Regions from separate parts of the Homo sapiens genome. Here regions 1, 2, 4, 5 and 6 are each linked to region 3. The links are contacts of gene promoters, found by promoter capture Hi-C in blood cells and fetal thymus (Javierre and others, 2016). All regions are on one chromosome and are shown on one strand. The core of a region is centred on a gene start or on the middle of the fragment in contact, and the rest is flanking DNA. Distances in the headings are between cores, read along the strand shown. Region 1 has its middle 6.2 kb from the start of HMCN1. Region 2 overlaps LOC107985239 (a long non-coding RNA gene). Region 3 holds the start of RNF2 (ring finger protein 2). Region 4 overlaps GS1-204I12.4 (a long non-coding RNA gene). Region 5 has its middle 29 kb from the start of HMCN1. Region 6 overlaps LINC01350 (long intergenic non-protein coding RNA 1350).

Region 1 (4,205 bases), core at 1,413-3,912, 680 kb before region 3:
ATGTATGACTTGGGACACAGGAGGGGTCTCTCATTCCTTTTCAATAAAATTTGGTCTTATATTAAAATGTAGCTCTCTGGGACAAAATAGTCCCTGGACGGAAATCTTACTTACACTTTAGAATAAATGAACCCCTGAAAGTAGACTTTGACAAGCAGTCAGCTGAGAATACCAAGAATATAAATCAAGAGAACATGATTGAGTTAGGAAAAGGGCCCAGACCAGGATGAGAGTAGGAGGGGTTGGGATAAAAAACAACAACAGTGAAGCTTAAGTGAAAGTATTGCCCAGGAATAACAATATATGAAGTGGTGAATGACAAGTATCCAATAAACTGACCTAATCCAAGTAATTCTTGGGTATTATCCAATATTACCACTTATTTGACAGAGCAATTAAAATCCATAAAAATGGCATAGTTAATAACCTGAACCCTCTATTGTCTCTTAACCCCAAACTGTACTCAGTTATTTACTTGTTTATTCCTCAAGAAATTTCTGGAATAACTGTTATTTAGCCAGGTATTATACTATGTACTAGAGAGAGAAAACTCAGTCCCTGCCCTCAAGGCACTTACAGTTTTGTAGGGCTGAGCAAACAGATTAAGAATGTTCTGAAAGACTAAACCTAGCATTCTAAGGAAGCAAATAGGACAGGCACCACTCTCAGGAAAGGCAAATCAGGTAAGGTGTTCCAGAAAGTATGGCATCTCAAGTAAGTGTAGAATATGTAGAAACTTACCAGGCCTCAGTTGGGGTTGAGGGTGAAGAGACATAACCCATTTATAGAACTGCAGGTAAGGTTCAAGTGTGGAGAAAGTACAAAAGGGAGCCAAGCATAGATCATCAGCAGCCTTGATACCAGTTGTAAAGGTTTGGATTATATCCTAAAGACACCAAAGGACTTTAAGCTGAAGAGTAAAAAGATTTATACTTTACAAAACCACTTGATGTGTGAGAGATGGAATAAGGGAAATAAATTGGAAAAAAGAAGAAAAATAGGAGTAGGTTGCAATAAAAATATTGATGACATTCTTTATCTAAGGAAACTGAGACTTGGAGAGTTAAGCAATTTGCCTAAATTCTATGATAGCAAGCAGTAGAGCCAAGACTTGAACCCAAGCAATCTCACTCCAGAGCCTCTGCTGTTCACTGTTTGCAAAGCTCCCTTCTGGCTATAAGTACAAGGAGGTGAACTAAAATAATAGTAATGGATAATGCAAGGAGTGACATGAATTCAAGATCAACATGATTTGGTAATTTTCAGTCACTTTTTATGAAAAGAGCTGCATAGGTAACTCCAAAGAAGCACAAACCAAAAATACCCTTTAAAGGCCATGAGGACAGAGAAGGGAGAAAAGAGAAAAGTAAAAGACCTTTTCAGTTTATCAGGAACTGATATCTATCCTTGATCTTAGAAGTCCTAGGAGGAAGGGAATGAAAGCAGAGAATGGAGTTGCCACTTCTAAAGTTTACATACACAATGTTAGATTTTACAGCAACATGTAGCAGATTATGGAACATTTCTAGTTTCATGATAACAATCACCAAATTATTCTCAAAAGTCTCCTTGCATAGATTCTCATCATTAATGTTATATTGGATGGTGGGGATGGGGGAATGAGGCAAAGGACAAGGTAACATTGTTTTTTAAGTAGTCCAGCACATTTCCAATAATGTCACTGCTAAAATCCTCTCTCCAATTCAGTTTTCTCCCTTGAAATTCTTCTACCTGCTCTGGAGAAGACTGTGCTTACTGTTATTTTAAGTGATCATTTAATTGGAAGCATTCATCACACAGGGCCTGATAAAGCCTAGTTTAGAAAAACTTTGAATTAATAAGGGTTGTGAAGATGATTGCTGTAAAGCAGTATGCAAAAACACTGCTTTGTAGTAAACTGCCTCCTGCAAATCACTAAATGGCTTGAAGTTATTCTCAATGATCCTTCCCAAAATGTCTTCTTCTCTACATAATGAGGCCCACAGTTATTTTATGTTTACTTTAGTACATTTCTACGGGGCAAGTAACTTGCTATTGCCATTGAATTTAAAGTACAGTACTTTTGCACCAACCATAATGGTTATACTTGGCAATTCTATGACACTTAAAAAAAAAAAAGAAACATTATTTGTTCTTCTCTTTTCTCCTTTAAGAAGGCAATAAAAGGACAGAAAGCCATCATGTTATAACTGGAAAACTAATCACATAGAATATTCTCTTATACTAATCAAGTTTAAGTCTGGAATTAGTTTATATAAAACAGATGTTTACATTCTTATTCTCCTTTGGTACTAAAGAGAAAAAAGCACAGAATAACTCTCATGGCATACTTTGGGGAATGTAATACTCAGCTTCTACTTTTTTTTTTAATGAAGCCAGGAAGCCTTTGGTCAGTGAGGGGAACAAGCGGAAGAGGGAAAAGCACCAAGGGCCTAGTCTTTTACTCCTTATATAGGCAACATTCCCATCATAAAACAGGAAGTATGCTGCCTCAGAAGAGAAAACTGGCTCACAACAAATCCAAGAGGACGTAGAAAACATGAGTCTGGTAGCTTGTCCAAAAGGAGCCACTCTTTAGGCTCAGCTGGGGCCCTAGTTTTCTAGGACTTGTGATTCTGGTTTGTTTATCAGTTGTGGTCCTCTCTACAAGGACCTCAGCTCTCCATCCCAGTGTACGTACCCCCAAATAAAGATCAAGACCTTCAGGCTGTCCTCATAATACTTGAGGAAAAGTCTTGTAAACCCTAACTGAATGCTTAATGAGGAATAAAGACTCCAACCAAAAATATCTCTGCTTCATTTTCTGAAAAAAAGACAGAAGAAATTAAAATTTATTCTCAATGACCCTTCTCAAGATGTCCTCTCAAACCTCCCCGCTCCTCTCACAGGCAGCTGCTACCTCCATAAAGTCAGGGCCCAAGTAACTCTCATACCCAGTCTCTTCTGCTCCTTTACCCCAATTCAAAAGCTGGAAAAAATTTTAAAGATCGTTTTTCTACGCTAGGACCTTATACAGAGAGAAAACTGAGGCCCAGAGGATGACTTGTCTAAGATCTCACACACAAAAAAATTTGAGACAGTGCAGAAGTATATTTTGAGCTTGTGATGATCACTCTTGCACCTATCAGATGTAATAGCTAATATTTACTGAGTACCCATGTCCCAGGCACTATTTTAAGTGAAATATATATATATATATATATATATATATATGTATTTTTTTTTTTTTTTGATACAGAGTCTCACTCTGTTGCCCAGGCTGGAGGGCAGTGGCATGATCTCAGCTCACTGCAACCTCCACCTCCCAGGTTCAAGTGATTCTTCTGCTTCAGCCTCCCAAGTAGCTGGGACTACAGGCATATGCCACCATGCCCAGCTAATTTTTGTATTTGTAGTAGAGATGGGGTTTCACCATGTTAGCCAGGCCAGTCTCAAACGCCTGACCTCAAGTAATCCACCCACCTCGGCCTCCCAAAGTGCTGGAATTATAGGCTTGAGCCACCGCACCCAGCCTTAAGTGCTTTATATGCATGAATGCACTGTCACCTTTAATTCTCATTCCAAAACTGTAAGATAGTTAATAGAATGATCCCCATTTCATAGAAGAGGAAATTAAAGATGAAATTAACACAAAGAGGTTAAGTCATCTGTTCTCACAGCTCATTCTTCTCCCCTTCACTTTTATTCTCCTTCTTTTGCCTTTAGTCTATGTTTTCCCTATGACTTTATAGTAAAATTGAAAATTTTTAAACTTTGAAATATACAATTACTTTACAGTATATTGCAAAGTTTCATCATTAATATGATACATACATTATAATTATATTGATCTTTTCAGAAAAAAAAGACAGAGTTTTGGTTTTTTTTTTTTTGCTTTGTGAATTATCCATGAAGCATTATTTGTTCTTGAATGAGCTTTTCCTGCTCATGAGTATTTCTCTGAGCTTTCTCGCTTATTTACAAATTCAAAGTAATTTCATATTTTTCCTCCAATGCCATGAGCTCCTTGAAAATAAGGGCTGTGTTTTATTCATTTTTATAAACACGTAGTGTTTTATTCATTTTTATACAGTAGAAATTCAATAATGTTTCTTTGATGAGTTGCTGAATTCATTATGATTAATAATGATAACCATAATAACTGCCATCTGAGTACTTTAAGCATATTTTGTGTGTGTGTATATATATATATATATACATGTATA
Region 2 (4,188 bases), core at 1,505-4,004, 630 kb before region 3:
CACCCCTGGGGGGAATCACACAAGGAAGTTCAGTCAGGGTCAAGGTGCCTTGTTTCTCTTCCTCTTCAATGGATTTACTCTATAATCCTATTTGTCCTGCCAAATGAAAGGAAATCCTCATTGTCTTTTCACACTTCAGCTTCCCTAACGCAAGAGCTATCTTAAGAGTTATGACTAAGTTACCAACTTGCTTCACGTAGGTATTTGTTTTTTCCTGGAATGGTGATGGGATCAAGGCCCAAATCTATGAAACAGTTTGTGAGAATTTTTGGAACTATAAGGCATTTGTCAGGATGGATAGTGGTGGTTTGATGTTGATCTTACTCATTTTCATTTCTGTTATTCTCTGAGAATTTTAACCATGTTATTTGAAACTTCTTCACAAAAATGACTTAATGATAAAAATTTCAGAAGAGCAAAATGTTAATAAGCCCCAGTTCCTAATCTGGTCTGTGTCTAGTAATAGTTAATGCCTCAAAATTTCAGGATTATTAAAAATAAGTCTTCTTAAAGTTGAAATAAACCTTTTTCTGTTTCTTCAGGTAATTGAAAGGATGCCATATGTTATTTTAAATGCAAAAATATTGTATCTCAAAGGATCAAAGGATCCAATTGGATCTCAGAAAAATGCTATCTAGAGAAAAACTACCATTATAAATCATAGAATTATAAAATAATAAGGTGAAAATGGTCTTAAAGGTCAGTGCAATAATTGATAGTCTTGTCCCTTTGCAGATGAGGAAGCTAAGGCTGCTCAAATGACATGATGTGTACATGATGACAAAACTCATGAATTCATGAATTCAAACACGAATCTTCCATTCCCCAAAGTCCAAGCCCATGTACAGAAAATTCTAGGCCACTGCACATCCTCCCTTTTATAATTGCACATTTAGTAATACAAGCTTCATATTAAATTTCCAAGCTCATATCTGGATTGAAGAATATGTCTCCATGCATATCGTTAAACATTTCCAACAGGTTTTTTTTTTAAATTTATTGCATTTGGCCTTTATTCTCAACTCAAAAGCTTGGTATAAGTGCAAGCCTTTTGGAATTTTTTAAAAGATAAAGATTTCCTTTGTGTCTGAGATCTAGATTTTCCTCAGACCTTATTTCAACTTGGTTAGTTCAATTTTCCTCTTTAAAACTCCTTTATTTTCATTTAACTAAGGAAGTGTGTTCATCATGTACCTTCTTACCTCTTGAAATATTTGTTTTGTTTAGCCATAAAAGTCCAAATGCAATTTAACACCTAAAAAGAGAAGAGGTGCAATTGTAAAACTGTAACAATTTTGCTAAATTGAGCAGTACTTCTTTAAAAATCTTAGGAAATATGAATTCTTCTATTATGAGCTATACACTTGTTATCACTGAAAGATAATTACTACTTTTCTAAACTCAGCCAGTGAGGTATATAATCCTAATGTCCTTTCTCCAAGGTAAGAAATGGTCATCTTTCTGGATATTAAAAGACAATAAATACATCAATTAAATTAAAAAGATGAAGATTATTAAAGTGATTTAACAGATTTAAAGATTATTAGAGTTCATTTGGAGCTGACTACAGCTCCAAAGGATGAATATTAAATGAAACTTATTAAATAATTTTTAATTCAAATCAATTTCATATTCTTGAGTTGTTCATCAAAAATAAATGCTGACATGTTATCATCCAACAAGTTCAAAGCACTTCCTGTTTGGTAAAAAAGGAGACCTAATGTTCTGCATAATCACGTTGTCTTGAGAAAAGACTTCGGTTTTACAGAAATTATTCTCTCTCCCATGCCAGGAATTGAAGGAGGGAAAAGAGAAAAAAAAAAGTTCTTGGGTAGAAAAATAATTCTTGTAGTATCATTATTAAATTTGGCTACAAACAGTATTGGTATGCTTTATGTCTAAAATAGTACCATTGGAATTGCTTTAATGGATGAATAATTATTTTACAATGTAACCATGGATTTTATCAAAATACCTCCCTTACGTAAGGCAAAAGTGAGCAAGTTTAAAAACAGTAACTCATGATCACCTGCTACTGTAAAAATCCAGTGATATGCATACCTTTCATTCAGAAGTTAGTAATGCCCTCTAGATCTCTCTTTTTATTCTGCACCTTTGTCAACCAACCCACTTTATGGCTATTAAGTCCCTAAAGCTTCTGAATCCTCTACAGCTCATCTCAAAACAAAAGCTAACCACCTGACATGCAGGGCTGGTTGTATGAAAATACAACAATCCCTCTCCAAGACCATGATAACCTGAGTCAACAGCGAACACATTAGTGAAATACAATTGTTGGCTTATGGAGTAATTCCAGTTAGCCACTGAGCATGAGGTATCTTCTAATTCTTCCATTGTTTAAAGATTAATTCCATTTGTTTGCCAGTAAGCCAAGTGGACATAAAAGATGAAACAATGAAATCATGAGTTGATCTGGTCCACCTAAAATAACTCCCACTACTTAAAAAAAACTTAAATTAATTCAGTTTTTGCTTTAATAAAACATATTTAAATGGAAACTTCGAGCTATAATAAGCAGTATTCTTCAAACTATAAAAAAGACTAAAATTCTTTATATCAAAGTTTTTCACTGATGTATAGGACAGTCTAGATTTCCTGAAAGAAAACAAATAGACCTCTATAAAGGTAACATAAATGTATACCACCACTACTGCCACCAAAGTAAAAAATACCATACTTTTTTTCAAAACAAAATAGTTAAAGACTAGGATAGCTGATCTAGAAGGAACCCTAGAAGGTATCTCACCTTGCCCCCTGACATTTGATGGAGAAAAAACTGGGAAGCAGATAGTTCACTGATTTAAGTTAGACACAGGTCAGTGGCTAAGCATGTAACTAAACTATAAGTAGACTAATAGTTGCATGAATCTCTTCTCTGCTCTTTTTATGTAGGACAGAGTTCACTGTCATCCTCTTGCCTTCCCTTTTAGGATCCTCTCTGCTATCCACTTGTCACAAGTGCCTAATCTATGCTCTATTCCTAAAGAGTCTGACTTTCCCAGTTAACTATTAAGTTTGGAAAATAATCTCTTAAACTAGAATGTAGTCTTAAACCAAAATGTAACTATGGCATATTAACAGATGTTGTCTAACAACAGTAGTCTCTAGTCAAATTGGTTTGGAAAATTCTAGGTTAAGCAAAGGTTTCTTTTCTGTAGAATAGTTTCAGAACTTTAATATGCTGATGTGCATTGTGAGTCTTCAGGTATGCATATCTCAACCTTATTAGATTATGGCAACTTTTTTTTACAAAGCAGATATCATAGATAGTATAATAAAGTGAAACACAATTTGAAAAACACTGTGACACAGCTAATTCCTAATAAGCTTATCTTGGATGTATACTTTCCAAAAATATAGGTACTTTTAGTAATTATTAATAAAATGAATTGTCATTTTGATCATTTAAAATACATAGTAGAAAATTAAACTGACCTCTATTTATACTAGCTAATGATAAGAAGAGATCCAGAGCCTTTTAAAATTGACTTTTGGAAGATTAAAAAGGCTTTAAGATGTGAAGAAATTAAAACTTAAGATGGCACTTCATATACTGTGAAATGAGATGCTGAGGGTGGATGACAGGAGAACTCTACCAGTTAACATCAGATTACTTCACGTCGGTATCTGCTCCCTTGTGAATAGAGGTACCATTTATTCAGCACTTGCTGCATGCTACACTGTGCTAAGCACTTTATTTACACCAGCTCTAGAAGGGTAGAGCCTATTACAATTCAAACCCAAGCTGGTCAAGTTTCAAAGCCTATGCTATTAATCTGACTATGACACACCTTCCCCAGCCTATCCCAGTTAGCAAAATTCAAATAATTCACATGAACTCTGCTTTTTCTTCCATACTGCAACTCCTGAAAGTGCCAAGATGTAAGCCAGAATTCTGCCCATATTTCAGAACCATTTCCCTCTCCTTCAAGCTGCCTGCTTGTCATTTTGTGTAAGTTTTATGATTTCATTTTAGAACAGCACTTCCCATATATTCTCAGGGTTTATTACTATCATTCCTTACCAAGGTGTGCTTAGGCAGAAGAACGGATACACTCACCAGCACATTGTTCATTTTTAGGTACTTAGTTTTAAATAAAATGTGCAGTTTAAATAAGAATGAAGCAGAAAGTTAAGTAGAGAATAAGAATTTTTATCATTTCGCTC
Region 3 (4,083 bases), core at 717-3,216:
AATATAAACACAAATCATGAATAAATCAGATTAGAGACACAGACGTGACACCACAAACTGTAGGTCACTAATAAAATTCCAAACATGTTTGCTGACCTGGTCTATATTTCTATCCATTCAAACCTGGGAGCTTCACACAGGCAGAGAAAAACTCCAAATTCCCAGTATTTTGAAAGTCTGCATGGTCTACATTATGTTAGTGATTGTAACTGGAAATTTTTCTATGCAACACACTTTAGGACAACTAGCTTATTTTTCAAATACTCAAACGGATTGGCCTGACTCGGGCAATTTTTCTTCGTAAATCTGCCTCTACTATAATTAACCTCAAATGTGGATGCCACAAGGATACCTGAGGAAAATAACTACAATCCTTACAAAAAGTGAGGGACCATATTTGCTGTGCTACCCCTAGAAAAAGGAGTCACCTATAACTACCTATTATTTTGCTAAAAAGTAGTTTAAGAGTACAATCAAGATTTTTAAAGATACTTGTTGATTGTGAAAAGTAGAAATTTCAGGGGAAAAAGGGAATAACCAAGAGTCATATTGCTGCTATTTAAATACTTTATAAATCCAAGGATCAAATTTCACTATAAGAAGCAAACTCTCACACCCACCTCAGTTATTAGAATATTCAACAACTGCACTTAATACAAAACAGATAGATTAGCTACCAATTAGACTAAGTATTCCAGCTGATCATCTTGGAATTACCAAAAGTAGATTATGTAATGCAAATCGCTCGTACATTCGTTTTAAACATATCCTCGGTTTAGAACACTGAAACCATGCCTTAATTTTTTTAATTGAAAAACAGCGTATTACTAAAATACTGAGTGCATATGTATATCCTTTTCACGGCACTTCAAAGAAACCTGACATCTTCAAATCATTTTACAATGTAAAGTTACATTCTCTAAAACTTCCGACAGCCTCGAAAAAGATACCCAAAGGGGCTTCAAATAGATGAGTCTATAATTGATCTTAGCGGGCAAATAACTGGAATGAACCTCAAAGTTTGAGATCAATTTTTACTAACACCATCTCTGAAAGCAAGAAGGAGACTTCTGTAGAAGGTAAACGATTCTGACCAGCAGGACGTGGGCTCCCGGCAAAAGTGGGTACTAGCATCTCAGCGTAAACGACACGGTTCAAAACGCGAATCTTCCCGCAGAAACTAACCAAGACACCCCCTCCCCCCACGACTCCTCCTGGGTAAGCTCACGGTTTTAGAAAGCAGCAACAGATACTCCAGAGCAGGAGGCGGCACTCCAGGAATGTGTGAAGCTGAAGGGGTCTCCCCGAGGAACCCCGAGGTCGAGGAGCTCCTCTACACTGGAACCCCGACTCCGACCCCCCAGAAGGAAGGAGCGATATCTGCACAAAGTGCCCCCTACCCCACCCCCACGATGCAGACACACATCCCTAGCTGCGAGGCGAAAGCCCAGAGAAAAAACTCGCATTCCACTCCGTCCGCCTCCGGAGTAGGGCTGCAGAGAGGCTGGGGCCCCCGCCCCCGGAGGCGAGGGGACCGCGCCGCAGCGCCGGCCTCCGCGCAGAGGAAAGGGCAGCGAAAGGCTCGCGGCGAAGGAAGGAATCCCGGCGCTTCGCTGACTGGGTCCTCCGCAAACCAGCTCCCTTCCCTCCCACGACCCTCGAAGACACGGGAACAATGAGAACCCGCTTCACCCGCCGTCTCCGCCGCGAGAGCGGCCGGGGGCGGCGGCGGCGCCATGTCCCTTCACACCCCCGCGGACACACACCCCCCCCACACTCCGGGGCCCCCGTCAGTCGCCTGCAACGCTGCCGAGTAGACGCGTGTCCCGGCCCGCTGCTTCCGCGTCCTTCGCCTCCCCGCCCGCCCCACTCACCGGCTCCTGCCCCAGCCCAGGGCTCCGCTGGCCGCGGCCGGAGCAAGACTCTGGTATCAGCTGCCGCGGACGCCGGCGCCGCCGCACAATATGGCGAGCCTCAGCTTCCGCAATGGAGCTCGGGAAATACAACAGGGGCCGCTCAATATTCATGAGAGACTGAGGGGAAGCCGGCTCGGCCGGCGCTGCGGGGAGGGCGGGAAGGAGCGAGCGAGCGAGGGGCGGAGGCGCGGGACGAGGACGTGCACGGCGCGGGGAGGCCCGCGGCGCGAGGGAGGGTGCGCCGCCGCGTGTTGGCCTGGAGAACCCGCGCCACCGCCCCGCCCTGGGCTGGCCGGCCACGCCCCCCCGGCGCCCACCGCGGTCCGACGTAGCCCCCGGGCAACGCCCGGATGACGGCGCAGCCACCTCGTGCTCAACCTTCTGCTTGGGTTCTTCTGCCCTGGCTTCGGCCCACCCTTTACACCTTCCTGGCCGGCTTCTGGGGTTTGGGCTCAGACTTCTTTCTCATGAGTTCGTCCTCTTAAACCTGTCCCACCCGGCGGAAATCCTCATCAGGCTTTGGTTTGCAGAACTTCACATGAACTTCGGCACCCTTCCGCTCTCGTACAACAAACATACACTTTTCATCCTTGCAGGATAAAACTGCAAGTGTAATTGCTCCTGGGAAAATGACCTTCCACTCTAAACTTAGCTTAACATTCTGATTGTGGTCATCAGCTCTTACTATTTACCTTGCTGCTGCTTTATTCCTACCTCCTTGGCCCCTTCCAGTGTTACCTTCTGAACTTGAGGATTTACGAAGTAATAGATTAATAGATGTAATCATTACCTAAAACACAGCCAGTTAGTCTCCAGTAAATTATCCGACATTTAATGCATATAAATTATGAGCTGAAGAAGTAACGAAGAATTGAAAGTTCCCTGATCTCTATATGTACTATTGTTGAGATGTCATGTTCTCTTGAGAAGATAACCAGCAATACCAGACCGTAAATCTGAAGGCATAGAGGCATAAACCAATGGACTGCAGTGGGAATTGGGCAAACTAGGTTCATAGCCTCCAATGTGTGTCTATGTGACTTACGTAGATTGCGTAGCTCCTCTGCACTTCATTTTCTTCGTCTGCGAGATGAGAGAATTGTATTGAATCCTAGGTCCTTTCCAGTTCTTTAACGCTCTGAAACTCTCTATAAGCAATTCCAAATAAATGACATGAATTTACATAGGAATTTGGAAAAGAAAAATATCAATTCCAGCTGGTGTGTTTGGGGATGATTTCCTGAGGAGCCGGGATTTAAGATGGCCTTTGACGCCTTGGATGGGTGGAAAGAAAAAGGACAGGTGTTAAATACAGCACATTATATATGCTACCTAACAATCCATCAAAGAAAACAAGCATTATTCTTTTTCAGTGGCTTGAAAGCTTTTGCCTACTATCTATAACTTTAAATAACAAGTGACAGTTATCTGACTCTACAAGCCCTTCAAGGTTAAACTCTTCCTCCAATGTGGGGGGAGAAAAAAAGGCTGGGTGTGGTAGCTCACGCCTGTAATCTCAGCACTTTGGGAGCCCAAGGCCACCGGATCACTTGAGATCAGGAGTTCGAGATCAGCCTGGCCAATATGGTGAAACTGTCTTTACTAAAAATACAAAAAAAAGTTAGCCAGGTGTCGTGGCACGCGCCTGCAGTCCCAGCTACTCGGGAGGCTGAGGCAGGAGAATCGCTTGAACCTGGGAAGCAGAGGTTGCAGTGAGCCGAGATCGCGCCATGACACTCCAGCCTGGGTGTCTCGGCGAGACTGCGTCTCAAAACAAAACAAAACAACAACAACAACAAAATCAAAATAATCAGGGAAGCTCTGCTTCTCCCTTCTTGTGAAAGTCCACTTTCTAGAAACAGTGCAGTTGCAGAAGCATCTCCCTTCTTCCTTCATGACGAGTGCATGTGTAGTTCAATTAAAGGAAGACAGGTGTTCATAATTTAGAACTTTTGCTCTAATTAAAATGCCTTTGAAAATCATGATGTGTGGTTAGATTAAGCAATTCAATTGATGTTGAGAAAAGTGATGATTTGTAGAAAGCGCAGGAACTTTATGGATGAAAGTTAAATATAGTGCTTAAAAAAGACTCACAGGAGAATTAGTGGAAAAACGGAAAACTTATGGGATATCTGGATTAAATGTGATTAAAAAGCTAGACCTCAGG
Region 4 (4,081 bases), core at 43-2,542, 610 kb before region 3:
AACCATACATTTCCTAATGTAAAATAAAAATCTATTCACTGTATTTTTCTTGAAAAGGAGTCAGTTTTAGGTTATTTGAAAAAGAAACGTGTTTCTAAAAGAGTAGCATATATATATATATACACGCACACATATATATACACATATATACACACATATATACACATATATACACACATATATACACATATATACACACATATATACACATATATACACACATATATATACACATATATACACATATATATACACATATATATACACACATATATACACATATATATACATATATACACACATATATATACACATCTATATATACACACACATATATATATACACACACGCACATATATACATATTCAAAACTGAAGAGACTTAGAGACTAAATAGACTTAAGGCTTTACCTTTATTATCAAACAATTATTGAGGTTTAGGAAACTTCTTTAATGGTATAACTTAGAGAAAGTCCTGAATAGAACAAATCATGCTTAATGGAGATGCCACAGTAGGGCATACTAACAAGACTACCAGAGTTTAAGAGACAAGGGAGGGAAGACAGAATCAAAATGTGAAAGCGACTGCAGAAATGAGAGCAAGCCTGCAAATTGCAGGATCATGAACTGTGGGGGCAACACTTGAAGCCTGCTGTTCAATGCTCCCCATGTCAATCCACTTTAAAAACTAACAAAATTATGGCACTTATCTGTCTACCCCAAAGGTTGACCATTACCTACAGGATAAATTTCTTCACTTGATATACAAAGTTTGTCCCAAACCTCATTTTGTGTCATTACTTAATAAATGTCTTCTACTCCAGCTACCAATGGTTCCCAACTTGGAATTACCTGTGGAACTTTTAAAAATTTACTGCCCAGGCCTTCCTTTGGATTGATCAAATCAAGACCTCTAGGAGGTGCAGCCCAGGCATCAGTGTCCTTTTGCAGCTCTCCAGATAATTCCAGTGGGCAGCAAAAGTTGAACACTTCTGAACTAACAGTTTTGAAATCCACATTTTGGAGTGCCAAGAAAATGTAGCTCTACTGATTCTTCTCTCTGAAAAAGAAATGGTAGAGTACAACTAACTTAGGTTAAATTGTTCCTTTTGTAATATTATTTCCAAATTATTTAAAAGGCTTTGCACATAGGATTAAAAGTTAAGAACATAGTTTAACCTCTCATTCAACAACAAATTCCTTTTCAATCAAGTCACATTCTTTCTATCTCCATACCCACATGGACTCGGTAGAGTAGAAATGACAACATTGCTATGCGTCACTCTTGTTTACTTCGGTTCCTATCAGCAAGTACTATACAGAGTTATCAGGTGTCTGTTAAATTTAGGCTTAGGAAAATGACTGCTATTTCCCTGACAAAGACTGGCTAGGAAAATAACAAGGGAAACTGATATTAAGACATGGCATTTAAAATAGTGTTCATGGACATTTTCTTCCTCACATTCTTTATCATTTTTTTAAATAGTACATAGGTGCCCCTAAACCTTCTTTAAATTTTTTTGAGGAAAAAAAAAGGAAAGAGGAGAGAAAGGAAAGAAGGAAAGAAGGAAAGGGAAGGGAAGGGAAGAGAAAAGGATAGGGGTAAGAAGGGAGGAAGGAAAGAAGGGAGGGAAGGAGGGAGGGAGGAGAGAAAGAAAGGAAAGAAAGGAAGGAAAGAAGAAAAGGAGTGAGGGCAAAAAAGAAGGAAGGAAGGAAAAATGGAAGGAATGCGTTGCAATAATTCAAGTGTTAATCTTGGATTTTACTGTGTAAATTATTGCAAAGAAATAGGCCTTGGGCTGGGCACAGTGGCTCATGCCTGTAATCCCAGCAATTTGGGAGGCTGAGGCAGCCTGATCACTTGAGGTCAGGAGTTTAAGACCAGCCTGGCCAACATGGTAAAACCCTGTCTCTACAAAAAATACAAAAAATTAACTGAGTGTGGTGGTGCACACCTGTAACCCCAGCTACCCAGGGGGCTGAGGCAGGAGAAGCACGTGAACCCAGGAGGTGGAGGTTACAGTGAGCTGAGATCATGCCACTGCACTCCAGCCTGGGTAACAGAATAAGACTCTGTTCTGTCTTGAAAGAGGAAGGGAAGGGATGGGAAGGGAAGGGACGGGAAGTGACAGGAAGGGAAGGGAAGGGAAAGGACAGGAAAGGAAGGGAAGGGAAGGGAAGGGAATGGAAGGGAAAGGAAGGGAAGGGAAGGCAAAAAAAAAGAAGAAATAAGTCTTGGGCAGTCTCACAGGAAAGGCTCTCTAGTTTTTTGGCTATCTCCACCTTGATATCTGTCCCTTTTGCTTTTTTTTCCTCTTAAATAACCTTCCTACCTGAGGTCTTCCATAAAATGTTTCATAGGGCAGATAAATTGCAAAAATCATATTATCTATTAGCATGAAGAAATACAGGGTACATATTATGTATAAGTAAGTAAAACAATTGACTAATTTAATTTATTCAAGGCTGAGCTCTTGCAATCTACTTCTACCCTAAGCCAATTTAAGTACCTTCTTTTAGTTCTACTACTGCTAAAGTACTAAGTGTTTATCTAGTCTCTCCAGAATAAACATTGAATTTCAGGCCCAATTTGTACCCTAGTCATCTCAACATGTTCTTCCAGAGGTATTCCTCTCAGTTAGTTCTTTTCCTTTGGGGGTTTGCAGCTCACAGACATTTTTCCTAAACTACTTCAATGGTAGATTTTTAAAAAATATATGTTCTTTTCAGCCTTCAGTAATAGGGTTGAGTCAAATGGCTTCTGCCTTTTCCCATAACACTCCCATCTTTAAACAAAATATCCTACTTGAAGATTTCTGCTTTCACAAACTTTCCATTTGTTCTTTCTCAATCAACTCCTAGATTTTGTCCTGAGGGCCTCTTCATGATTTCAAGTTGTATGTGACAGTAGCTTTATCAAAGCCCACATTTATTAGGTCGGTGCAAAAGTAATTGTGCCTTGTTGCCATTGAAATAGCAAACACCGCAATTACTTTTGCACCAACCTACTACATCAGAAGAGGATCCTGCCTTCTTTGACAATTCTCCCACACTGTGGAGATAGGAATTTTTATTACAGTCTTAAGACGAGTAGAATTGTCTGAATAATTTGAAGGACATAAAATAAAAAATCTAGTGTTGATTTTTAAATTTTTTTAAATGATGGGGAAGAGGATAGAAGAAAGCTTTAATAACATTGGATAAAAGAAAACAGAGGTAAAAAAAGTATTAAAATGAGGGTGATGTCCTTTTGAGATTAGAAAACCTTGGAACAAGAGGAAGAAATCAACTATAGTTCCAATAAGCTTTTTCTTTAAAAAAGCATTATACGGTAGGCAATGTATGAGATTCAAATGGAATAAAACAGACACATAGAATTATTTGTGATTTTTTTTTTTAAAAAAAGCTATTTTAACAAGTAGCTTAAGAGTACTTCAACTTCACCAATGGAGGCAAGTGAGAAGAAAGGCAACCATAAAAGTCAAGCTCAATTCTGCCATCTACTGCCTGGCAGCAAAACCATGCGTGGGGAGACCTGAGTCTATTCCAGTACCCAAGGTCATTGCTAGGGCACTGACACCCATTTAGAGAAAGATGGGATGAAAGCCACTGAGATTATATCCCAGAGATGCAGCAAGGTTTCCATCAACAAATACAGACACTGGGTTTGATTTAACCCTGTTAATAATTAGACCAACTCAGGGTTTCTAATATGGTGTATGTATAACTAATTATAGTCCACCCCTTTTTAAAACTTCAACACTATTGAAGTAAAAGCTCAATTTATATAGCCCTTTTGAATACTCAACAACATTATGGAAACACAGCTGCCCCTATTTTAGTTTTCTCAGTATCTCTTGGACCTGAAAGTGACAAACTATGTCCTCTTTATTCATTCTTCAAGGGAAGATGGATCTTTAGATGTCAGAGTAGGAGGTGAGGAACAGTGTTCCAGCGTTTCTGTGCTCTATTCTTCTTAAACAGTTTTGTCAATAAAGGACAAAATAATAGAGAACATAATTTGAAAGACTGTGTGGTTTTGCCTCCCTAAAAAAAGAAATGAATTTCATATTAAACTATTC
Region 5 (4,196 bases), core at 837-3,336, 660 kb before region 3:
GTGGGCTCCACCCAGTTCGATCTTCCTGGCTGTTTTGTTTACCTAAGCAAGCCTGGGCAATGGCAGGCACCCCTCCCCCAGCCTCGCTGCCACCTTGCAGTTTGGTCTCAGACTGCTGTGCTAGCAATCAGCGAGGCTCCGTGGGCGTAGGACCCTCCGAGCCATGTGCGGCATATAATCTCCTGGTGCGCCGTTTTTTAAGCCCGTCGGAAAAGCGCAGTATTAGGGTGAGAGTGACCCGATTTTCCAGGTGCCGTCTGTCACCCCTTTCTTTGACTAGGAAAGGGAACTCCCTGACCCCTTGCACTTCCCGAGTGAGGCAATGCCTCGCCCTGTTTCGGCTTGCGCAGGGTACACTGCACCCACTGTCCTGTGCCCACTGTCTGGCACTCCCTAGTGAGATGAACCCGGTAGCTCAGATGGAAATGCAGAAATCACCTGTCTTCTGCATCACTCATGCTGGGAGCTGTAGACTGGAGCTGTTCCTATTTGGCCATCTTTTTTTTTGTTCAGCCTCCCCTTGCCCTGAATCCGAATGATCACAAGGTCCCACAATAGGCCAAGGTAGCCAGTCTGAGTCCCAAAAGCTGAAGAACCTGGAGTCTGATGTTCCAGGGCAGGAAGCATCCAGCATGAGAGAAAGATGTAAGGCTAGGAGGTTAAGCCAGTCTCCACTTAGCTCTTCTGGTTATACTGAGCGTTATGGGTTGAATTGTGACCTCCAAAAGCATATGTTGCAGCCCTAACCTGTGGTTCCTGTAATGTGACCTTATGTGGAAATAAAATCTTTGCAGATGTAAACAAATTAAGAGGAGGTCATTAGGGTGGGCCCTTAATTCAATATGACAGATGTTCTTATGAGAGGAAAAGATGACCATGTGAAGAGGTAGACACACAGGAAGAACGCTCTGTAGAGAGGGAGGCAGAGATTGGAGTTATGCTGCCATAAACTAGGGAAAACCTGGGGCTATCAGAAGTTTGAAGAAGCAAGGAAAGATCCTCCCCTAGAGGCTTTCAAGGTAACGTGGCCCTACCAACACCTTGATTTCAAACTTCTAGCCTCCAGAACTGTGAGATAATAAATTTCTGTTGTTCTAAGTCACCCAGTTTGTGGGAATTTGTTATGGCAGCTCCCGGAAACAAATATACTGTAAGTCATAAAGAGCCCAAGGAGGGATAGCTAGTTCTCTATGACTGAATGGACAACTGTACATCAGCAATGGTGTGAAACAAATATCTTCTTCGAAAAAGCATTTGGATGTGATGATCTCTAAAGATCTCTCCTGACTCTAAGATTCTCCAAATTCCCATACAGTAAAGTTTCCACACCAATAGATACATAAGATAGATATGTAGTTTATAGTTAGTGGGCTAGAAAGGCTAGACAACATATCTAACACATGCATGCATTTAAACCTCACATGCCTTATATCAGACATGCTCAGCTTCCCAGAACACCATAGATGTCTACATATCTTCATCCATTAATTCCAACCTTCCCTCAGAAAAGATATAGGAAGGAGATGGTGATAGATTAACTCCATAATAGTTATTTGGGGATTATCCACTATAGTAAAAATAGAAAATAAAATATGAATAGTATGACAAATTTGTGGTCTTGTGTCCTACCAAAATATCTCCTGCCTAGAGGTTTTTTTAAAAAAATAAAAAACACTGGGGTATATAACTACACTTTCTGAATTTAGGGCTGAGAGTCATAGAGTCCAAATTATTCAACTATTCTCTGCACTATCATAATAAAGCAAGCTCATGATTTCCCAAAAGATAGAAGGTACCATTGATACATTTTTTTTCTATGAAACGTTCACAATGTTTTAGGAAAGCTTTTAATGGTACATGATCTACATCTCTGTTTAATCTATGTTTCTGTTTCATGTTTACATAGTTTTATGTATGTCAATATGTTCTCACTTTTACAGAGTCTCTCTTGAATTGTAAACTATGAGAGAGAAAGAGACTCTCTTTTATAGATACAACATGACACAAGATACTTGGAGAATTTTTAAATATAGTAAATAGTGCTTTAGTTAAATGTTATTGTGTTTTGTCATAACCTGCAACTAATAGTGCTTTTTGATCCCCCTCATGGGGTTGTTGGGATGATTAAATATGACAGCTAGGGCAAGGCACTAGCACGGTGTCTAGCAATCAGTAAATCTCCATTAAATATCAGCTCCAGGTTTGATACTGAAACAAGTATTAGGGGTCAATATTTATGCTTAAAATTAAATATGCAAAATTGTAAGATTCTTACCCCTGTAGTGATATGGTGAGAAGAGGCAGAGCACAGAAGTTAGCACAAGCTTTAGAGCTCAACAGTCAGAGTTTGGGCCATGGCTGTTATACTCAGTAACTGTATGACCTCAGGAAGTTATCTGACTCCCAGCTCTTCAGTTATCATTAAAGAATTATTTTCAAAGTCATTAGAGATAGTGTTTATAAAGCACCTAATGTGACAACCAACACATAGTAAGCATTCAATAAATAGTAGCAGTAAATCCAAGGGGGGCTTCAGTCCATATTACCTCATCTCAAAGGATTCCTCTAAGTACTTGTCATTCTGTATACAACTCTTATTTTTATCTAATAATTTGATTTTCCCCAGATGGTTATTACATATTTATATAATGCCTATGTTCGTAAAAAAGCACATAATTAATTTTTTAAATGTATTAAATGCCCTGATAAGGAAACGCATCCAAAATTGAAAAAAGGAAGAAACAAAAAAGTAGATTGCAAGTTCTTCCAATATTTTATGGGTTTAAGATTTACCCAAGGGATTACCCAAGGGATTTCCCAAGGGATTATCCAGGAGAATATAATTTGATTTACTATATACTACTGATTAAAAGTCTCAAACGTAGTGACATTACCACGAAACTTATAAATTTTTGTCCAGTAAAAATGAAAATAAAGTCTGGCTTGTGGAACAGATTATCCCAAAGGTAATGGTATCCTGTAGGATATTAACCAGAATTTTTTAATGCAGTGTAGCAATCTTATCCTGACATTCCTTTATTAAATTGCTTATAAATGCCTAAGTCCTCAAATGCTTTTGCAACCAGCATAAACATCTTACTGATTCCTTCTTTAATAGATAAGCTGAATAGAATCTTTGACTTGTTTATTTTATATTTGCATGCAACTCATGGTTTTCATTTTCTTAAAATTATGTTAGTAGCTTTGAGAAAGCTTAGTAGAAAAAATAATTACCATAGTTAATATTTTAGAAAGTGAAAAATTATTTAGCAACATGAATGATCACTTTCTAATTAATCTCTTATAGCAGCCTTTTCTATGTGTTTTCTCATACCTGAGCATTCTTGTGTTCAGGCCACTGGCATGAGCAAGTACAACTGCCACTTGCTGCAGCAAGATAAGTCGGCTGAAGTTCTAAAGTCTCTTATACAGCTGTATGAGTAATGAGTTCAAAAATCACTCTAACAATTGCTATTGGCTTCCCTTTCTTTGCTTATTCCAATCCTTATTAATGGTCTGAGAGATAAGGCTCCTGTTACCACATGCACACAATGTCTGGCTAGCATCGCACATACGAGATATGGTTTCATTCCAGTTTTCCTGCCACCAGGGGAAATAAACAACAAAGTTGGACTCTGAAGGAATGGGCTTGTTGGTTTAGCCCATTTTGCACCTTGTTAATGTCTTACTCATCCATATAGTGACCATCTGGCAACACTTGGAGCCAGATTTCTGCTTAATTAAGTCATGTGAATTATCAGAGGCTTACATACCCAAAATTTAGAAGAAACAAAGGTGTGGACAATTCTAATCTGAATTTATTATTGTGTGACTTATTCAAAGTCAGATGATGCATATTTTCATGGACAAAAAAGTTGAGGTATATGATGAATTCTATAGATTCAAAATAGTAAGAACAGAAAAGGTATAAAAGGGAAAGTTATTCTCTTCACAGAAGGATTCTCCATGGTAAAAAATAATTCATAAAAGACCTTTTAAGGAGCAAAACCCCCTAATACTCTAAACTTTTCTTTTTCTCAACACAAATGCTTAAAGCAGTGTGGTACATTAAGCAAGACTTTGGCACAATTAGTAGTGTGCCACCTTAGAGAAACCTATTCATCTCACTCGGATAGGATTTCCTTATCCAAGGAATAAAGAAGCAGACCTAGTAGAACTCTAAGACACCAGCAAGT
Region 6 (3,972 bases), core at 672-3,171, 520 kb before region 3:
TGCAATGGCACGGTCTCGGCTCACTGAAAACTCCGCCTCCTAGGTTCAAGTGATTCTCCTGCCTCAGCCTCCTGAGTAGCTAGGATTATAGGCATGCACCATCATGCCCAGCTATTTTTTTTTTTAATAGAGACAGGGTTTCACATGTTGTCCAGGCTGGTCTTGAGATCCTGACCTCAAGTGATCTGCTGCCTCAGCCTCCCCAAGTGATGGGATTACAGGCATAAGTCACCATACCCAGCCATCTTTTCCTCCTTGGGGTTTTGCTCTATATGTATAGACCTTGAGAAAGAGCTTTCAAAATAGACTTTATCCATAATCAACATCTTAGGATCTTTTTTCCTCCATAAAGATCTTCAGCATCACTATGCACTACAGTTCATTTCTCTTTTAAAGCAAAACGTAGCATAAACTAGACAAAACCCCCAAATAAGCTCTCCATTTCCTGCAGCTTGTGTAGCTCTAGCAATCTAGTCTATTGCTGGGCAATATATTCAAGCCTCTCACTGATTATGTTATCAAAGCTGTTTAAATTCCATTCCACGAGTTTGTGTATGGCAAAGATGAAGCTGTTTGTTTAATTAAACAATTTCTCTAAAAATGCACACAGTATATTTTGAGAACATAGTGAGACTTTGACCTTGCCTCAACAAGGGCATTTTGCTGCCACCCCCATTCTGCCACACTTTTCAACATGTTATCCCTCTTGAGTTTAATTTCTATGTTGTAAAACATCTCATCAATTGATATCTAGCATTTTGCATCTAATGCATTCTCATAACTTCTAGTTGGCTGTGGCTTATTTCATTGTATGCTTTCTTCTTCATACTTCTGGACAAGCTTTGTTTTTATGGCCTTTAAAAAAACATGGCTGTTATCAAACACTATATACGGAAATGGTTTCCTTGACAACCATAACCACAAGCGAGTCGTCTGCACCTCTTTCTCATTGCATGGTTTGTTTGGTTGCTAAAACACTTCAAAATATTTTTATTCAGAGTCAGGTATTAAGTACCTGAATTTACAGAGTAAGCTGAAATCCAAGCAGGTGATGAACTATCAGAACGGTTGTAAAGTGGCAAACTCTAATCATTTTCAAGTATTAGAGTTCAGCCTCATGACACAGTCTCTAAAAGGACAAATGCTGAAAGCTTGATATTTAAGATCCAAAATGAATGACTACCTCAAGGACACAAATTAAAAAAAAAGACTGGCTAGAAATGCCAAAGAAGTGAAAAATATTGCTTAAATGGAAGGTGACATTGCAGTTTTATTCATTCATATAAAAATTCCAAATGTTAATTCTTTAATGGGAAAGAGGTCAGCTTCAAGGTTATCAACAGAACAGCAGATATTTTGTCAAAAGTGCTCCTAAGACTATGTCTCTTGACAAAATTAAGCACAATATATATGGAGCTTCCATTTAAAATAGTTTTTGAAAATTTTCTTTGGTTAAATGTCTCATAGCTCATAAGATTCAGAAAATCTCTATTTCTGGGAACTTCTCAGGGTAAAAATATTTTCCCAAATATCAATTTTTTACAAGGAAATATACAGCTTGCATGGATTACAAAAAAAATTAGAAAGATCAACATGAGATTCTGTACAATGTGATAAGCATCCCAAGAAAAAATCACTAACAATGTCATCTCACTCCATACTGGTCTAGTCTCCTAATATCTGTCAAAGACAGGATATAATAAAAAACATGGTTTACTGTCCCCCCCACCGCATCATGTCCAAAACCATGGTTAAGTTGGAGATGTCTTCAGATTGGTTGGAATCAGAGTAATTTGACTGAAATAAATCACATAAATAATCCTATTTGTGTTCATGCATGTTTATAAAAAACAATTGTGCAAAAATATGAACCTGAAAATTTAATCAAGAGAGGTAGTGGCAATTCTTATGAGAAATTGGAGCTCTGGGTCACCAGGTAGGTTGAGCAGCAGGTGAAAAAAAATTATACAGAGCGTTTTTACTTATAGAATTTTACTTAACAGCTCTGAAAGAGCCTGTGAGGTTAGGTATGAATTATGGCAGGGGAAAGGCAGGCATAAGAAGGAAGGAAGGAAAGAAGAGAGGGGAGGAGGGAGGGTGGGCCAAAAGAAAGAAAACAAAGAGAGAGATAAAGGGAAAACATAGGCCAAGCTGCTCAGAGCATGGGGGGTGGAGGAGGGGGGTGAGGGAGGTGGGACAGTCATAGAGCAACCAAAGTAGAACCAAGGAGTGAGTTAAACGGAGGTTCCAGGTACCATTCTGAGGTGATTTTGAGAACAGTGTTAAAATGAAGCCAAAGAGATGTATCTGAGGCCCGGTCAAAAAAGAACCTCAGCTCCCCATGGACCAAGAGAACTCAAAAAGAGTTTAACTTTTGTCGCATACTTCAATTCTTACCATAATGTTCTACAGGTATAGAATGCTGGGGCCCTTCCATTACTCCATGCACTGGGGAAGAACTAGAATTGTGAGAAGAGCTTTCACGCTCCCATAACCATTCCTTGGCCCACCTCCAAGAAAAGGCAGGCTGGCCTCTGTTTAGGTGTTGTCTGTGCTTGCATTCCCAACGTTGACATGAGGAATTATCAATGGGTTCCGGACATAATCAGCCACACGGCAGAGTGAATTCCAGGAGGTATGTGTCAGGCAGGATCCCATCAAACTCATTGCTTTCAATACTTCAAAAGCTTGTTTTAGAAACACCATTACGGAGAATTGCCTGAAGGATTGAAAATCCAGACATTCCACTGCATACTCTAAAATCTGTCTTTGGGTGGTTCCAGGCCAGCAGAGATTTTCATACCTAGACTGTCTCATTTAGTTCTTGCCATCTTTTGATGACTTTTAAAAATGTGTATATTCATACCTTACTTTGTTCTGTAAAGAATTTAAGATAGGAATTTTTATTGAATTGAGCTGTGAATTTATGCCATCAGCCTTTATCTGAGGAACATTATAGGAAGCACTTCTATGAAATGCCTGTCAAGATACTATTGAGAATGTGGCTCATTACATTTCGAAGTATCCTCCTTAGGAAAACCCACTGGAAAAACTTCCCTCTTGCCTTCATACAAAGAAGCATTGAGCTTGTCTTCTGGCACTGGCTTGTTGTATCTTATGGACACTGATTCACTTATTGGACCATGTTTTTCTCTAGGCACAAAGCCAACTGGGGGCCCTTGCCCATCCACCATACAGAACCTCTCAGCATGCATTTTGTGGATTCACTTCTAGATTTACCATTCTTTCCCTACCCCTATTTTCTCTGTATTCATAAATCTCCACTTTATACATTTTTAAATTTGTTAACGTATATAGTACACTAAGTAAATATACCACGGTGCAGAGTAGCACCTCTCCTGCCAGAGGATGGAGAGAGGCAATATACCCCGTAGGGGCTGGACACATATTCTACCCATTTAGATCCAGAAGGAAACTTGAGCCTCTCTTCTCATAGAGAAAGAGTAGGGTAAAATCACAGACCACCACTATCCATCAGACCACTCTCATCCATGGGAGGGTAACTTTTAGGGAAAGCATTTTGGAGTGTCATGTAATACCACCCAATTTTCCTATATACTCATAAGATTAAATACTCAGTACTTTTCAAAAATGAAAATAAGAAACAAAAGTTCATTGTTAAACCCCAATGTTTACTTTATCCCTTGCATACGATGAAAATAATCTACTTCCCTGAAGGAAAGTGCTGACTTTCTCTATTGGCTCTGTAAGTCCTGGAGCAGGTGGTCCCTGCAGCAGAGGGAACGGAATGAGAAGACCCTTACAGTAGCCAACTGACTATTCTAGAACTCCTGGGAGAACCATACCTCATTATTCACCTAGAATGGGCCCAGCTTGTTCTAATTTCATTTGGCTCCTTGCAGAAACACTCTTCATTGTCTAAAACTTTGGGTGGCTGTGAACTTCAGCTTTGCCCCTTAACTCTCCTCTGACCCTTTTCTTGACCCACTA

What was found. The method cuts DNA at HindIII sites, captures the fragments that hold promoters and counts their contacts. A CHiCAGO score of 5 or more calls a contact.
Region 1: a contact is called between a fragment that was not itself captured here and the fragment with the promoter of RNF2 in region 3, in 1 of 17 cell types (neutrophils). The highest score is 6.6, in neutrophils.
Region 2: a contact is called between a fragment that was not itself captured here and the fragment with the promoter of RNF2 in region 3, in 9 of 17 cell types (total B cells, naive B cells, naive CD4 T cells and 6 more). The highest score is 10.5, in total B cells.
Region 4: a contact is called between a fragment that was not itself captured here and the fragment with the promoter of RNF2 in region 3, in 1 of 17 cell types (neutrophils). The highest score is 5.3, in neutrophils.
Region 5: a contact is called between a fragment that was not itself captured here and the fragment with the promoter of RNF2 in region 3, in 1 of 17 cell types (naive B cells). The highest score is 5.2, in naive B cells.
Region 6: a fragment that was not itself captured here is called in contact with the fragment with the promoter of RNF2 in region 3 in 1 of 17 cell types (fetal thymus); the score reaches 6.3 in fetal thymus.

The regions. Positions count from the first base shown.
Region 1 is chr1:185,726,105-185,730,309 of GRCh38, reverse strand. No RefSeq gene overlaps it. Among named protein-coding and RNA genes, the nearest start is that of HMCN1, 6.2 kb to the left of the region's middle. The HindIII fragment of the contact is 4,781 bases long and covers 272-4,205 here.
Region 2 is chr1:185,675,266-185,679,453 of GRCh38, reverse strand. It overlaps LOC107985239 (a long non-coding RNA gene), which reads right to left. Exons shown (of 3, transcript XR_001738340.2): 2 at 1-5. Among named protein-coding and RNA genes, the nearest start is that of GS1-204I12.4, 31 kb to the right of the region's middle. The HindIII fragment of the contact is 1,193 bases long and covers 2,158-3,350 here.
Region 3 is chr1:185,043,441-185,047,523 of GRCh38, reverse strand. It overlaps RNF2 (ring finger protein 2), which reads right to left and starts at 1,966. Exons shown (of 7, transcript NM_007212.4): 1 at 1,875-1,966. RefSeq lists a silencer at 2,077-2,336. The HindIII fragment of the contact is 4,610 bases long and covers 1-3,302 here.
Region 4 is chr1:185,651,981-185,656,061 of GRCh38, reverse strand. GS1-204I12.4 (a long non-coding RNA gene) reads right to left here. Exons shown (of 3, transcript NR_188649.1): 2 at 852-1,059. All of the region lies in intron 1 of LOC107985239 (a long non-coding RNA gene), which reads right to left. Among named protein-coding and RNA genes, the nearest start is that of GS1-204I12.4, 7.5 kb to the right of the region's middle. The HindIII fragment of the contact is 3,789 bases long and covers 1-3,186 here.
Region 5 is chr1:185,703,702-185,707,897 of GRCh38, reverse strand. No RefSeq gene overlaps it. Among named protein-coding and RNA genes, the nearest start is that of HMCN1, 29 kb to the left of the region's middle. The HindIII fragment of the contact is 480 bases long and covers 1,847-2,326 here.
Region 6 is chr1:185,564,137-185,568,108 of GRCh38, reverse strand. All of the region lies in intron 2 of LINC01350 (long intergenic non-protein coding RNA 1350), which reads left to right. The region is part of intron 1 of LOC107985239 (a long non-coding RNA gene); the gene reads right to left. Among named protein-coding and RNA genes, the nearest start is that of LINC01350, 62 kb to the left of the region's middle. RefSeq lists a silencer at 2,286-2,486. The HindIII fragment of the contact is 1,536 bases long and covers 1,154-2,689 here.